5 separate regions of the Homo sapiens genome follow, and all the other regions are linked to region 1. The links are contacts of gene promoters, found by promoter capture Hi-C in blood cells and fetal thymus (Javierre and others, 2016). All regions are on one chromosome and are shown on one strand. The core of a region is centred on a gene start or on the middle of the fragment in contact, and the rest is flanking DNA. Distances in the headings are between cores, read along the strand shown.

The links. The method cuts DNA at HindIII sites, captures the fragments that hold promoters and counts their contacts. A CHiCAGO score of 5 or more calls a contact.
Region 2: a fragment that was not itself captured here is called in contact with the fragment with the promoter of TEAD1 in region 1 in 1 of 17 cell types (endothelial precursors); the score reaches 6.0 in endothelial precursors.
Region 3: a contact is called between a fragment that was not itself captured here and the fragment with the promoter of TEAD1 in region 1, in 1 of 17 cell types (endothelial precursors). The highest score is 6.8, in endothelial precursors.
Region 4: a contact is called between a fragment that was not itself captured here and the fragment with the promoter of TEAD1 in region 1, in 1 of 17 cell types (endothelial precursors). The highest score is 9.0, in endothelial precursors.
Region 5: a fragment that was not itself captured here is called in contact with the fragment with the promoter of TEAD1 in region 1 in 1 of 17 cell types (endothelial precursors); the score reaches 5.2 in endothelial precursors.

Annotation. Positions count from the first base shown.
Region 1 is chr11:12,673,000-12,675,699 of GRCh38, forward strand. TEAD1 (TEA domain transcription factor 1) reads left to right here and starts at 1,422. Exons shown (of 13, transcript NM_021961.6): 1 at 1,422-1,835; 2 at 2,410-2,562. RefSeq lists a silencer at 1,114-1,413 and an enhancer at 2,249-2,700. The HindIII fragment of the contact is 11,683 bases long and covers 1-2,700 here.
Region 2 is chr11:12,859,093-12,861,792 of GRCh38, forward strand. The region is part of intron 3 of TEAD1 (TEA domain transcription factor 1); the gene reads left to right. Among named protein-coding and RNA genes, the nearest start is that of TEAD1-AS1, 62 kb to the right of the region's middle. The HindIII fragment of the contact is 908 bases long and covers 990-1,897 here.
Region 3 is chr11:12,878,023-12,880,722 of GRCh38, forward strand. It overlaps TEAD1 (TEA domain transcription factor 1), which reads left to right. Exons shown (of 13, transcript NM_021961.6): 6 at 1,686-1,820. Among named protein-coding and RNA genes, the nearest start is that of TEAD1-AS1, 44 kb to the right of the region's middle. RefSeq lists an enhancer at 2,525-2,700. The HindIII fragment of the contact is 2,437 bases long and covers 133-2,569 here.
Region 4 is chr11:12,898,282-12,900,981 of GRCh38, forward strand. The region is part of intron 9 of TEAD1 (TEA domain transcription factor 1); the gene reads left to right. Among named protein-coding and RNA genes, the nearest start is that of TEAD1-AS1, 23 kb to the right of the region's middle. The HindIII fragment of the contact is 353 bases long and covers 1,156-1,508 here.
Region 5 is chr11:12,819,172-12,821,871 of GRCh38, forward strand. All of the region lies in intron 3 of TEAD1 (TEA domain transcription factor 1), which reads left to right. Among named protein-coding and RNA genes, the nearest start is that of TEAD1-AS1, 100 kb to the right of the region's middle. The HindIII fragment of the contact is 3,806 bases long and covers 1-2,700 here.

The sequences.
Region 1 (2,700 bases), core at 172-2,671:
AACTGCATCTCTACAAAAAAATTTTAGAAATTAGCTAGGCGTGGTGGTGCGTGCCTGTAGTTCCAGCTATTCGGGAGGCTGAAAAGGGAGGATGGCTTGATTCCAGGGAGTCGAGGCTGCAGCGAGCCCAGATCGCACCATTGCATTCTAGCCTAGGTGACAGAGCAAGATCCTGTCTCCAAAAATAAAATAAAAAAAAAATTAAAAAAAAGGAAAACAATGTATTAGTAAAAGTTATGTTTTGTAGAAATGTGTTGCACTCAGTCACAGTCTAGTCTCCTCAGTTACCCATATATAGGGATATAGGGATTCCTCGGGCACAAAATATGTTGTTATTTAATCCTGAGGCCTCAGCTGGAAAAGAGAGCCAAGTGCCTAGAACGAATGAGGTCCACTGTGCGGGAACTGCTTTGCAGTTTGTTAAATAATTATAACAATCACCCGAAACTTTAGACGGTTCTGTCCCCAGTGGGTCGATTTTACCCGTTTTCTGATTTACCGACTGCGTCTATGTCACTTTTGCGTCACTACCTCCAATGGCAGGGTTAAAATGATTCCTTTAATAATGAAATGAAGTTTCTCAATAATGAAAGGGCTAACTTAAAGTCGCCGGATGCAGCATTTCAAAGTTTAGGAAGTTACTTTTGAAAAGTACAACCGGCAGAGATGAGTGAACTTAGTTTTTTAACTGACTTGGAGAAGACCTTGCTAGCAGGGCAGGTTTATTACGAACTCTGTAATTATCCTTCTTTGCTAAGCTAAAGGTTTTCCTTTCCCAACCGTAAGACAGATTTCGACTTGAGTGAGAGCTGTGAACTTTTATAAAAGTGAAAGGGAAGAGAAGAAATGGCAGGCTGGGAATCTGGCCCGGAGACGGCGTCCACCGCGCTCGAGAGCAACAATCTGCATCACCAGAAAGGCAACTTCTCTACCCTACACTTGCAGACTTCCGCGAGTCCGGGAGCACTCAACGCAGTCACCCGCGCTTCCGCGTCCCGGACTAGGGAAACTGAGGCACGGTAGGCGCGTCGCGCGCAACTCCCGCCTCGGCGCCTGCCCCCTGGAAGAAACCCAGGCTTCCAGAGTTCTTCGCGCGAGCGCAGGGACTTCCAAGCCGCGCAGCTCCCGTCCGCCCCGCCCCGCCCCGCCCCGGCTCGGGACAAAGCCCGGAGCCCGCGCCGGGAGACGGAGGGCGGCTCCCGCGCGAGCCACGCTCCCCCGTGGGCGCGAGACTCCGCCCAGCTGCCGAAAGCCCGCGCCCCAACGGCGAAGCAGCCGCGCCGGTCCGCCCCGATTCCCCATGACGTCACCGGCGGCGGCAGGCCCCGCCTCCAGCCCCGGGCGGCAGGCCGCATGACGTCACCGAGGCCCCACCCCTCCGGAGCGAGTTCGGTCCTGGCGTTCATTTCATTCCTGTCCTCATTCCGAACATTCTTAGCATCGCTCGCGCCGCGCCGCGCCGCCTGAGCCGAGCCGAGCCTCTGCTGCCGCCGCCGCGGCCCCGCCGCCCGCCGCGGGCGCCCACCAAGCACTTTGCAGACTCGCTTCCACCCTGCGGGCCATTCCGCGCGGCGGGGCCCGGGCCCGGGGCGGCCGCGTCCAGGCACAGGCCATGCAGTGACGCCCCCCCACCCCTCCACCTTTGCCCGGAGCGCGGGCAGCAGCCCAGCGCGCCAGCCGGCCCCGGGGCAGGAGCGGTGCTAGGCAGGGGTGGGGTGGCCGGGCCCAGGGACCGGGAGCCGGGGAGGGAGCCGGGCACCGAGCAGAGGGCGGGGGAAGCGGCGCCGAAGTTTGCCTCGGACTCGCCGGGCGCTGCGGTGGCTCCCTGGGCCGAGGTAAGTTGGCGCGCGGGGCGGATGCTGGGGTGCGGGGGGCGCACGGGGCAGCGGGGGGCCGGCGGCGCGTCCCTCGCGGGCCGCTCTTTCTTTGCGGGCTCTGCTTTGTGTGCGACGGCGGGCGGGCACGCGGAGGGCCGCGGCCGGGCCCCCACACCCGCCTCCCCGCGCCCCCTCCGAGGTGAGCGGCCGGGCGCCGCCGCGCGACTTGCCAGGACGCCAAGTTGGGCCGCGCGCTGGGAGCCCGCGCGGCAACAGGCGGCCCCCGGCCGGCCGCGCCGCGCCCCCCGCGCGCCCCCTCTCCCGCCGCCTGCACGCGCACACACGCACACACCCTCGGGCGCCTTGGACGGGGTGCGCTGGGGAGCCAGAAGTTCGGAGCGAGCGCGGGCGGGCAGAGCCGCCGCCTCGGAGCCCGGAGCCGGCCTGCACCCCCCTGCTTTCGCCGCCGCCCCCCGGCGCCGGGTACCCCCGAGGCCGGCCCGGGTCTGCGCAGACTTGTGCCGCTGGCGGGGGGTTCGCTCCTTCTTCTCAAAGATGAAAAAGGGCACGGTCGTCTTTGCCGCTTCTCCAGGACTGTTGCTGCCGCTGCCGCCGCCGCTTCATTGCACATTCAAGTGGAAAATTTTCAGGAGTCAGCAGAAACATTGTGTCCAAAAAAGACTGAGTCGCAGTTACCACCAAACCCAGGAGGAGACTCTCCCTGGAAAACTTCCCTTCCCTTTCGGTAGGAAATACTGGGGGATTTGTTTGTTGATTGGAAGAGAAATGATCCCCGGGGGGGAGAAAATCTGGGTACACTTCTAGTCTTTGTTCGTAACAGCAACACTTGTTTTCAAAAGTCCAGAGTCCCGCTTTAAAGAAA
Region 2 (2,700 bases), core at 194-2,693, 190 kb after region 1:
GCATGATTGTACTTCAGTCAAAGTGTGAGTTGACACTGTTTAACTCCAAGGGGTGCCATTTGTATAGGCTGTGGTACACAGTCAAATAGGGCTGTCTTGGATATTGATTTTATTCATTCAACTCCAAGTGCTGCAAGAAATTAAAAGTTAGTCAGGTTATGTGTCACATCTATCAAGGTATTCTGTCTGTTTTCCCAGAAAATAAACAAGTTTGAGGGTAGGAGACATTTTTGTCATCTGGACAAGGTTCGGACAAAATTGTATGTAATACAGAGCCCTGGATCTATTTCGCCTTGGCCGCTCAAATAGCCCTGAACAGGATGCACAGTGAGGCCCCAGGTTGGAGGATGCTTGGCTTGTCTGCAGACATTGTCATTTAGCTCTGGCTTCTCGTAATTAGGTACTCCTAGCTGGGCTCTGTTGTCAGCGAGCCTTCAAGACAAATTGCAAAATCTGTACAACCATCTGAGAGATGGAGAAGTAGATCCAATGATACTACAGGGGATATTGGTAGTTCTCAAAAGTTTGAAAGAGAATGCTTAGAAAAGCAATCCTCAAAACTGAATTTAGAGGTTCTTGTCCTGTGGTAAAAGGGTTCACAGGATCTGAGAAGATCTTGCAGGCAGGAATGATAGACTGAATCTAAGGGGATGAAATGGAGTAGAAAAAATGTAAGGTTCTGTTTTGAGGTCTGAAAATCTCAGCTATGCATTAAAAAGACTGGAAACAGGGGTAGGGACATATCAGAAGACGAGCCCGTATGAAAAAGACCTAGGAGTTTAAGTTGGCATATATTGATAATTTATTGTGCTCCTTAAAAATTTAATGCAGTGTTTGGCTGCATTAACAGAGGTAGAGTATTTAGGATGAGAGAGGTAATAAACTGACTCTGATGCTATAGCAGGAGCACTGCCACAGTTCTGGACTCCAAGCTTTGAAAGGAAGACAGACAAAGGATGGTCACAGGATGGTGTGTGGGAGTGTTCCAAAGCTTGTCAGATAACAAAGTAACACAGGAGGTTTAGCTTGTGTACAACTCCAAGAGGACCCCAGAGCTGCTGTTAATATCTGAAAGGCAGTTAAATAAATAAGGGACTGGACTTCTTGTTAAGAGGAACAGGAAGGATCTGGGGATGAAAGTTAAAGCAGACCCCCAAAAGGAGGGTCTTCTTATTCTTAAATATGTTCTAAGATAGAATGGGCTACTTCCTCAATTTTAGAAGTGCTGACTAAGGCTTATGAGGACTTTCAGGAATGCGAATGGATGACCTAGGGGTACTTTCTAGCCCCCAGATTTCATGATTCCTTTGCCTTCCAGTGATGACCATGTCCTGCACAGTCCCAGCACTGGCAGGTGGTGGACAGAGCCATGACTCTAGGACATTCTAGGCAGTGATGAGAGAGTCTTCGCAATTCTCAGACAAGATTTCCCTAAGGACATTTTGATGTTCGTCTTCATCAGTGTTTCCAGTTCTTTACTCTGCTAGGGAAGATCTGGGGGATATGGTCACTTCCTTTCAGCAGAGGCTGTGTTATTTCCTCATTCATTCTTTTCTCTGTGCCCAGCAGTGTGCTAGGTGCTAGGGGGACATTGAGGAAGAAGACAGAGTTCTTCCCCTCTTCAAGTATGCAGTATATCTGGGAGGAAGTAAGACAACAAACACAAATTTTACAACTAACTATAAAGTTATAAATACAGTTACAGTTTGGGTACATCCTAGGAAGAAGTACAGTTTTTGCCACCATGGGGGTGTAGAACAAGGCAACCAAACCTAGTTGGGCAATTAGAGAAGACTTCCCCAAGGGAGTGACATCCAAGTGAGGCCTTGAAGGAGAAATAGAATCTAGCACAATGGTCTCAGGCTGGTGAAGCACATGAGTGAATGCCACAGCAGCAAGCTTCAGACTTGTTCTTGACCAAAGGAATTTTTCACAAGGATAGAGCTGAGCTGATACAAAGCCAGCCAACAGTAGTGCTATGAAATGGTGGTTTTCCATTTACTGTAGAAAGTATGTAGAAATAATTTCAGTTCCTGGTATTAGAGCAAGTTGAAGTCGTAAATAGGACCTGCTTAGAAGAACCCATGTCTTGTATGAGTGGTTTTTATTTCACGTGGTATTTTGGTAATACATTCTCTGCTTAGCTTCTGGGGATATTTTTTCCTATCATGGTTTTCTGAAGTCAGGTTGTCTGAGACTTCTCAGTTTCCTGGTGGGATAGGGCTAGAAGGTTTTTGTTTATACTTTTGGGCATTGTTCTTTCCCCAGAAGGTTATATAACTTGGAGGAGATTGAGTCATTTTTTTCACTGACTACCTTTAGGGGGTGTCTGCCTTCGTACTGTTAGCTTCTTGTCATTGTCCGGCTTCCGTGGCCACAGCAGCTCGTTCGTTCTCTTGTGGCTGTGATTTTAGCTGGAGTAAACTATGAGTAGAAACTTGAATAAGAAGGAAAGTGAATATGAATGTGAATATGAAAAACCAAAGACTAGAAGAGAACTGGGTTTGTTTAGTCCCAGACTAATCCTTGTCTGTATTTGTTGCTTATATGAGTGACCCACCACCCACAGCATACAAACAGACAAAAAGGCACATCTTAAAAAGATAAATTTCAGCTGGGTGCGGTGGCTCATGCCTGTAATCCCAGCACTTAAGGAGGCCAAGGCGGGTGGATCACCTGAGGTCGGGGGTTCGAGACCAG
Region 3 (2,700 bases), core at 101-2,600, 200 kb after region 1:
TCTTGAACTCCTGGGCCCAAGTAATCCTCCCACCTCAGCCTCACAAAGTGCTGGGATTATAGGTGTGAGCAGCCACACCTGGTCTTCCCCTTTCCCTTTTTCTTTATTGGCTCTTTTTCAAAGGTTAATGTAAGCTTTTTGGAAATTCACATTGTCTTCCTGACAGTTATAGGGCAAAGTAGTATCTACACCCTGGGAACACCTAGCACATCTTTCTTAGAAGCCCTTAGCAGTTGTTCATGAGCTTTGATTTTTTAAAAACTCCTTTGGCCTTGCTTTTGATGCCTTGATGTGTTTTTTTCATCACCTTTGGTTATATCAGTAAGCATTGAAGCACCCTCTCTGCTGGTACTTGGTGTCTTAGCCTGAAGCTCCCTTTGACGTTCCCTGGAGGTGGAAAGCACTCTTTTTATTTTGATGTCACCATTTTGTTTTTGCTTTGATGGCATTTGGGCCTGGAATATAGACCCTCTATTGGCACCGGTAGCCTTTATATGCCTACGAGGCTCAAAGCCCTGCCTGTGCCCACCGGGCCTGTCTCATACCAGGAGGCTATTTCTCTGTCTGTCCTGGGGAAGCCACAGAACCAGTGCAAAGGAGTTGAGGGGTAGTTTTTTATTGTTGCTGTTGTTGGGTGCCCTTCTCAATCATTGCCTTTCTAGATAGCCATCTGGATCACCTTTTCTTCCTAAAATGTGAAAAGGCCCACACCCCTATGCATTTTATTGTTCCCAAGTATTATATGTTTGTGTACATATATACATATGTATATATACACATATATATATGTTTTTTTTTTAACCAAAGAAGAAAAAAAATCCCTTTTTATGCAATCCTTTTAACAAATTGTTTATTATTGTATCCAGGTAACAAGCATGGTAAGTATTTTCACCAAACTGAGTATTCTGTATTTTAGCTGTGCTTGGCAGACTTTTTTGGCTAGCTTTGTGTTGTTAGCCTTGGCTTTCCTAGAAAAGACCCGTTCAGGAAAAGGAGAAACCACGTACCTGTAGCATCCCCTAGGCTCCTGGCTTCAGTACGAACCCACGTAGCCTTAGCCCCACGGCGGGGATACCTGAGAAAGCATGCACCCCGCCAGCATGCTGCTTGGCCCTGTTACCCCCAACCCCCGCTGCTTCTGAGCCTCTCCAGCCAGGTGTCTGCAGGGCTTCCAGGCCTTGCATGACCCCAGCAGCTCCTGGGACCATGGCCCTGTGACAGTCAGGACACACAGATAGGGCTCCTCGAGCTCTGTGGACGGTCCTACCCCAGTCCACAGCTACATCTCTTCTCTCACTCCTCCTCCCATCCGTTTGCTTAAAAGCAGGGCCTTTATTTTTTTTTCTTCCTTAAATGTTTTAAGTAATTGGAGAAATCTTCTGGAAGCTGACAAGCTAAATAAATACGTTGTCCACTCTTCTGAGAGGCTTCACATTCTGTTGGAAAATGGATTTAATCCCTAAAAAAAGCCTTGCCCCATTGGGTCTTCCCAGTAAATGTTGAGAGGTACGGTAGGTTGAGTGTGGTTTAGCCTTCTGGCTGTGTTATTTATCCATGCATGTTTGCTTTTTTTGGCCTATTTTGTGGCTCTGTATTTTAGTCCATGTGCTCGTGGCTGTGCCTGTGTAACCTGCCTGGTAGCCATGCGTTATGTATTAAGTTGGTGTGTCACTGTCACCTTCAAGGATCAGACTGCAAAGGATAAGGCCCTGCAGCACATGGCGGCCATGTCCTCAGCCCAGATCGTCTCGGCCACTGCCATTCATAACAAGCTGGGGCTGCCTGGGATTCCACGCCCGACCTTCCCAGGGGCGCCGGGGGTAAGTCATGAGCTCAGTCCAGTAATGACAGCTGCTGGGGTTGGGGTTGGCATGTGCCAGTGTTAAGCCTCCCACCTCCATTTCTTGTCATGTGGGTCAGGTATGTGAGAGGGCAAAGGCTACCTTGTCAACTGATAACTGAGTCTAAAGTGGTGAAAGTAAGGAGGGAAGGGAGGCAGAGAGCTAGAGAGAAAGGGAGGGGGAGGAGAAGGAGGAGGAGAGGAAGAAAAGAAAAAAGGAAAAGGAAGAGGGAGAAAATCAGAAGAGGAAGGAATTCTGAGTCCCTGAAGACATGGAATTAAATGTGCCTTTCTGGGTTGGGCTCAGGCGTCTTCTCTCTTTATCTTTTTCCTGGCCCTTGGTCTCTGTCCCTCTGTCTTCAGGGGCAACTAGCCCCTAAAGGGACAAGGTATTCTATTAACATTTACATTTTGACACCTACCAAAGGCTGAGAAGCATTATGTTATAATCTCAATCCTCCAGGTAATCTTAAATGCTGCTTATTGTCATTGCCATTTTGCAGATGAAAAAGCTGAGGTTATTCAGTAGCAAAACAAGAGTTTGGATAGCTGGGATCATAGTGGAATGGATAGTGATGTCAAGAATCAGCCCCAGGGTTGCTTGACTCCTGAGGCTGCTCTTTCCCTCCTCTATGTCATGCCCCCTTTCCAGCCCACACCAATCGCAGCAGGGAAGCTCGCTGCAGAGAAGCTGCCTGCATTGCCGCTTGGAGCTCCTGGCCTTGTTCAAGCTTTGTCCTCTGCCTTGCTGGGTCTTCACTGCTGTTGACGCAGAATATTATGCAGGGAATGTTTCAGAATGAAGGGAGGGTACATGGATAAATCAGTCAGTTCAAATATTGGTGAGCCCCCTGCAGCAC
Region 4 (2,700 bases), core at 82-2,581, 230 kb after region 1:
GGAGGGATAGCAAAAGCAGGAAAGTTATTTTGCTTCTACCTCAGGATCTAGTGAATGTCACATGATAATAAACTATAACAATGGTCATCTTAGCTATAATTTATTGAACATGAACACTTTTTTTTTTTTTTGAGACGGAGTATCTCTCTGATGCTCAGGCTGGAGTGCAGTGGTGTGATCTTGGCTCACTGCAGCCTCCGTCTCCTGGGTTCAAGCAATTCTCCTGCCTCAGCCTCCCGAGTAGCTGGGATTACAGGTGTGTGCCACCACACCCGGCTAATTTTTGTATTTTTAGTAGAGATGGGGTTTCTCCGTGTTGGCCAGGCTGGTCTCGAACTCCTGACCTCAAGTGATCCACCCTCCTCAGCCTCCCAAGTGCTGGGATTACAGGTGTGAGCCACCAATCCTGGCCCCTATCAAACATTTCTTATATGGCAGGTCCTATGCCAAGCACCTTCTGAGCATTAGCTCCTTTAATATTCACATATGTTGCAAATATTACAGGTATTATATCCCCATTGCACATATGAGAAGTCTTGAGGTTTCAGGTTTGTGTCTGGCTCCAAGGCTTTCGTGCTTTACACTCAGCACCTTGCTTTTCAGCTGTACCTTCATGGTCCCCATTGGTATGTGGTAGATTTTACCCCCATTCACCTTCTTGACCTGTAGATGTCAGGGCCGTGGTTCCCATTTCCAGCAGTGCAGTGCAGGGACATTTTGATGTTAAGCACAAAGACTTCAAGTTTCCCAGCTTCTCAACTTCACCCCAGCTCTGACCTGGCCCAGGGGCAGCTAGCGAGGCAGAACAGCTAGGAGTGAGGAGCCTAAAGGGAGACTGGGATTCAGCTCAGTGAGTCCCTAAGGCTTGTATCTCATGCCTTCCATAAACTCACTCCTTGCAGAAGGCGCTAGAATGGACAGAAGCGGTGCCTTCTGGAACTGGGGCGGTCTGAGAGCTAGCTGTAAGCAGAGGTTGTTAATCAGGGTTGGATGGACGGATACATAGCCAGTTGTCTAGGTAATAAACAATGCCTTTTGCCCTGTACTCCCCATTCCATTTTGTGTTTCTGATTGCCTTTATACCAACGTCTGTGCCCACACCTTTGCCCATGTTATTCTTTTTTACTTTTGCCCACTGAGACTAGAAAGACTAGAAGCTTCTTAGCAGCTGTGACTGTGTCTCATACATTTCCATGGGCTGTTGTTTATAATTGGAAAAAGTGATGTGGCAACATTTGAAAAAATGTATAAAAAGCTCAAAGATGTTCCCTCCTACCCTTATAATCTCACCTCTTCCCACCCCCATAATCTCACTTCCCTAACACAATGGCTTTTACTTTTAACCTTTTTAAAAATAATTTCTTCCTTCTGAGGCAGACCCTGTTGTTTTATAGTATCTCCCAGCTTCTGTCTTACCTGCCAGGTGGCTAGTCCATGCAGCTGCATCCATGTCAGAGCTTGATAGGGTTCTCTCTTTCACCTCACCTGATACCTTTTAGGATTTTTGAAGCTTTGGAAAAGATACCACTCTGATGTTGAACAGGAGAGGGACCTGGCCCTCTCCAAAAGATACTGGCCTCAGTTGCACTGCCCCTTATATGCAACACTGGCATCAGATGGAGTGTCCAGCCTCCTGTCTTTTGGCATGGTGGCCAGAGATCCAAATGTGGGTAGCAGGTTATAGATTTAAACCAGTATTCCTTCAGGATATATTTCATAGGGTTTTGTGACCAACTGAGTTTGAGAAACTCTAGATTATATGTTTAAAAATGTTTCTTTATGGAAGTGCCTTTTTAAGAGACAAGGTCTTACTGTGTTGCCCAGGCTGGAGTGCAACAGCATGATCATAGCTCCATTACACCTTCGATCTTCCAGGCTCAAGTGATCCTCCTGCTTTAGCCTCCCAGGTAGCTGGAACTACAGGCATGCACCACCACACCTGGTGATTTTTTTTTTTTTTCTGGTAGAGATGTCTCACTGTGTTGTCCAGGCTGGTCTCAAACTCTTGGGCTTGAATGAGTTTCCCTCCTTGGCCTTCCAAAGTGCTGATATTAAAGGCATGAGCCACCATGGCCAGTCAATGGCACTGCTTTTAATACGCTAGTATTTACTGTGAATCTCTAAGAGAGGTCTTATTAAAAGAATAATAGCTAGATTTTATTGACTGCTTATTCTTGTTAGATCTAGGATCCCTGATGAAGTCTGTGGAGTGTCTTATTTAAACCCTGTAACAATCCAGTGAAGTGAATGCCATCACTGTCCCCATTTTAGAGACTTGAGAGGCACTTGCGCAGTATCATAGCTAGTTTGCCTTGGGCAGTGTTTTGTGCTTGAGTAGGATGAGTCTAGACCCACACAATCTTTTTTTTTTTAAAGCAGGTCCCAGTGATTAAGTTCCATGGACTGTACATTCTTAACCCATGTATAATACTCAGCTTTGCCCAAGCCTTCTGTTAGTTGGGACTTCCTGTGGAATAGATTAGTACTCAGGGACAGTAGTTGGAGAATTGCCAGTTTTAACTTGGAATGTGAGCAGACTTGGACTGCTAGATAAAGAAGGCGGATGGAGTTTCTCAGTGAACCCTATTTGGTTCTGAGGCCCATGGAGCCTCTGCATCCCCAGGTTTCTTGGTCTGTGTCACATTAAGTTGGTATTAATGCCTATTCAGTGGGAGAGGCATGCCCGAAGAGTCTGGAGTA
Region 5 (2,700 bases), core at 171-2,670, 150 kb after region 1:
GATGAGCCAATTAAGAGAAAGGTTTGCATTTAAGCATCTTCCTCTTGTACTGGTGACTGAGTGACTCCAAGGTGGCACCATTATCACCGGTGCTTGTGCAGAGGTGATTTTTTTTTTTTTTTTTACACTTTGCTGTCTGAAATGCTTTAAATGATTCTTTTAATTAAAAAAATTAGTTACCTATATAAATATTCACTTGGTAACCCCTTCATTTAAACAGTCCATTTATGCCTTATGCACTTGTATGTGTGTGTGTGTTGTGTTTCACGGTAACAAAGTTTTTTGTTTTTTGTTTTGAGATGGAGTCTCGCTCTGTCACCCAGGCTGGAGTGTAGTGGCGCGATCTCGGCTCACTGCAAGCTCCGTCTCCAGGTTCACGCCATTCTCCTGCCTCAGCCTCCCAAGTAGCTGGGACTACAGGCGCCCGCCACCAAGCCCGGCTAATTTTTTTTTGTATTTTTAGTAGAGACGGGGTTTCACCATGTTAGCCAGGATGGTCTTGATCTCCTGACCTTTTGATCCGCCCGCCTCGGTCTCCCAAAGTGCTGGGATTACAGGCGTGAACCACCAAGCCCGGCCGGTAACAAAGTCTTAAAAGCGGTCTTATTCTGTAATACGTTGGCCAGTTTTAAACCATTTGCAGTAATGCATTTAAAAGATGTTATTTCATAGATAACAAAATAGCTTCTTGATTTTCATGATAAACATAGACTTGGAGCCTTTTTCTTTTTCCCCGATTGTGAGTCAGCTCTTGGAGGGCATGGACAGTTTCTCACACCTCCTGGGATTAGAGGTGGAGAAACAGAATGGGCTGGGTGGGCAGAGACTGGGTGGTTGGAGCTCAGGGCCTGGGGCAGGGAGTTGTGGGGAGGGAGGGTGGGAAGGTGAAGGGGAGGTGGTGGCAGGTCATGGGGGTCCACTGTGTGCCATACTGTGGAATATAAACCTCTCCATCAGTGCAGAGCCACACAGCAAAGGTTTTAAGTGGATAAGTATGTATGGGGAGTGGGACGTGATCTGGTTTGAATAATGTATACTCAGGACTCTTGCCATACAGTAATTTTTTTCAACCCGCTAGACACTGTTGCTGTGGGGAAGTGGAGAGTGGTTTCATCCATATGGCAGCATCATGGCTGTGTAGCCCTAAAGCCATAGGCACCTCCCACCCCACCCACCCACAGTGGCATCCACAGTTTTAGTCTCTAATAGCACTTTGTCTCCTGAGAAGAAAAGCAAAGTTGTTTTTCCTTTCTTCTTCTCTCATCCCCAAAGCGTTCTCCTTCTCACCCAAACCATGATCTCAGATCTTAGGAGTTACAGGTCAGACATGTCACGGAGCCTGTTTGAGATCAGTTGTCTACGTTGGTGATGAAATTATAACACCCTAAAAGAAGACTTTGGAGTAGGAACTTGCCAGGGTCATCAGACATGGTTGGGTTGAGAGAGGAAATGCGATTATACAAAAAACGTAGAATACAAAGTAGTGCTTATTCTGTGATCATGGCTACTGTTTCAGGGGACAGGACTAGAAGGGAACCCGGACAAAGAAAAACCCTTGGCCTGTGCAGGCTGTGGGGTTGTGAGTGCTGTTTCCCCAAATTAAAATATCTTTATTATTGTCATGATTTTGTTGTGCCATTGAGGTACATTAACTTAAATAAATCAAAGCGAACAATTTTAAGATGACGAGTAAGTCTGGAGAAAAACCTAGGACCCCAGAAAGAAGGCATATTGTACATCCCAGTCTGCTGTAACTTCCGGAGCTGCTGCTGATGACAAAGGGCTTTAAGGCAAGGGAAGTGTTTGCAGCACTTTGGGGGCTCTATGCCTGTCTGCATGCTTGTTTAGTTTTTGCCATGGCCTGTTCACCAGCCTGTCTGCCCTGAAACTGGGAAAGGTGGATCCAGCTGCTGTCCAGGCCTTCAAGAAGCAGAGCCCCATTCAATTGTCCACTTCTCTGTTGCTGCCCAGAGCCAGATCCTGTGTGGGATACTTGGCTTTTCAAGGGCCTGTGTATGGTGTGTTGTTGAGTAGAAATGTCTGAGATGCTCCTTTAGTAGCACCTGATTCTTTTGGATCAGTGATTTGCCATTTCTTATATGAAAACGAGAAGTTCAGAGTTTTGAATTCTGGCCCCAGTTCCATCACTTTCTTGCCCTGTGACCCTGTTCTCCTCCCAAAACCTTTCTGAGTCTTCATCATTAATAATGTTTAATTGGATCACATGAAATGATACAGGTGAAAGCATTTAGAAATGGAAAGCACTGTGGGGGAATATTTTTGTTCATAATTGTATCATAATGTGGACATGGAGAGTTAACCTTTGTCAGCGCTTAGTTTCTCAGCCTTTTTATCTATTAAATGGGAGTACAAATGATACCTTCATTGGGGGTTCCCTGAGCATGCAGTCGGAAACTATGACCTCTTCTGGAGGACCATGACTTTTATTTTTTGACTCTATAGTGTAGGAACATCTTAATTAAAGATTATGGAAAAAAATGAAAAATGGGTTTATAAAAAAATGCCCAGATCCAATTTCATGTATTTGTAAACTATTGATCAACAACCTGTGTGGAACCTATGGCCGGATATGAATTATCCAGTATTAGCATTGATATGAATGCTTTTATCAATAGAGCATTGATAAGGCATTTCATGGAACACACATGTCAGCTCGTTCTCTCACTTTACCTACCTCCT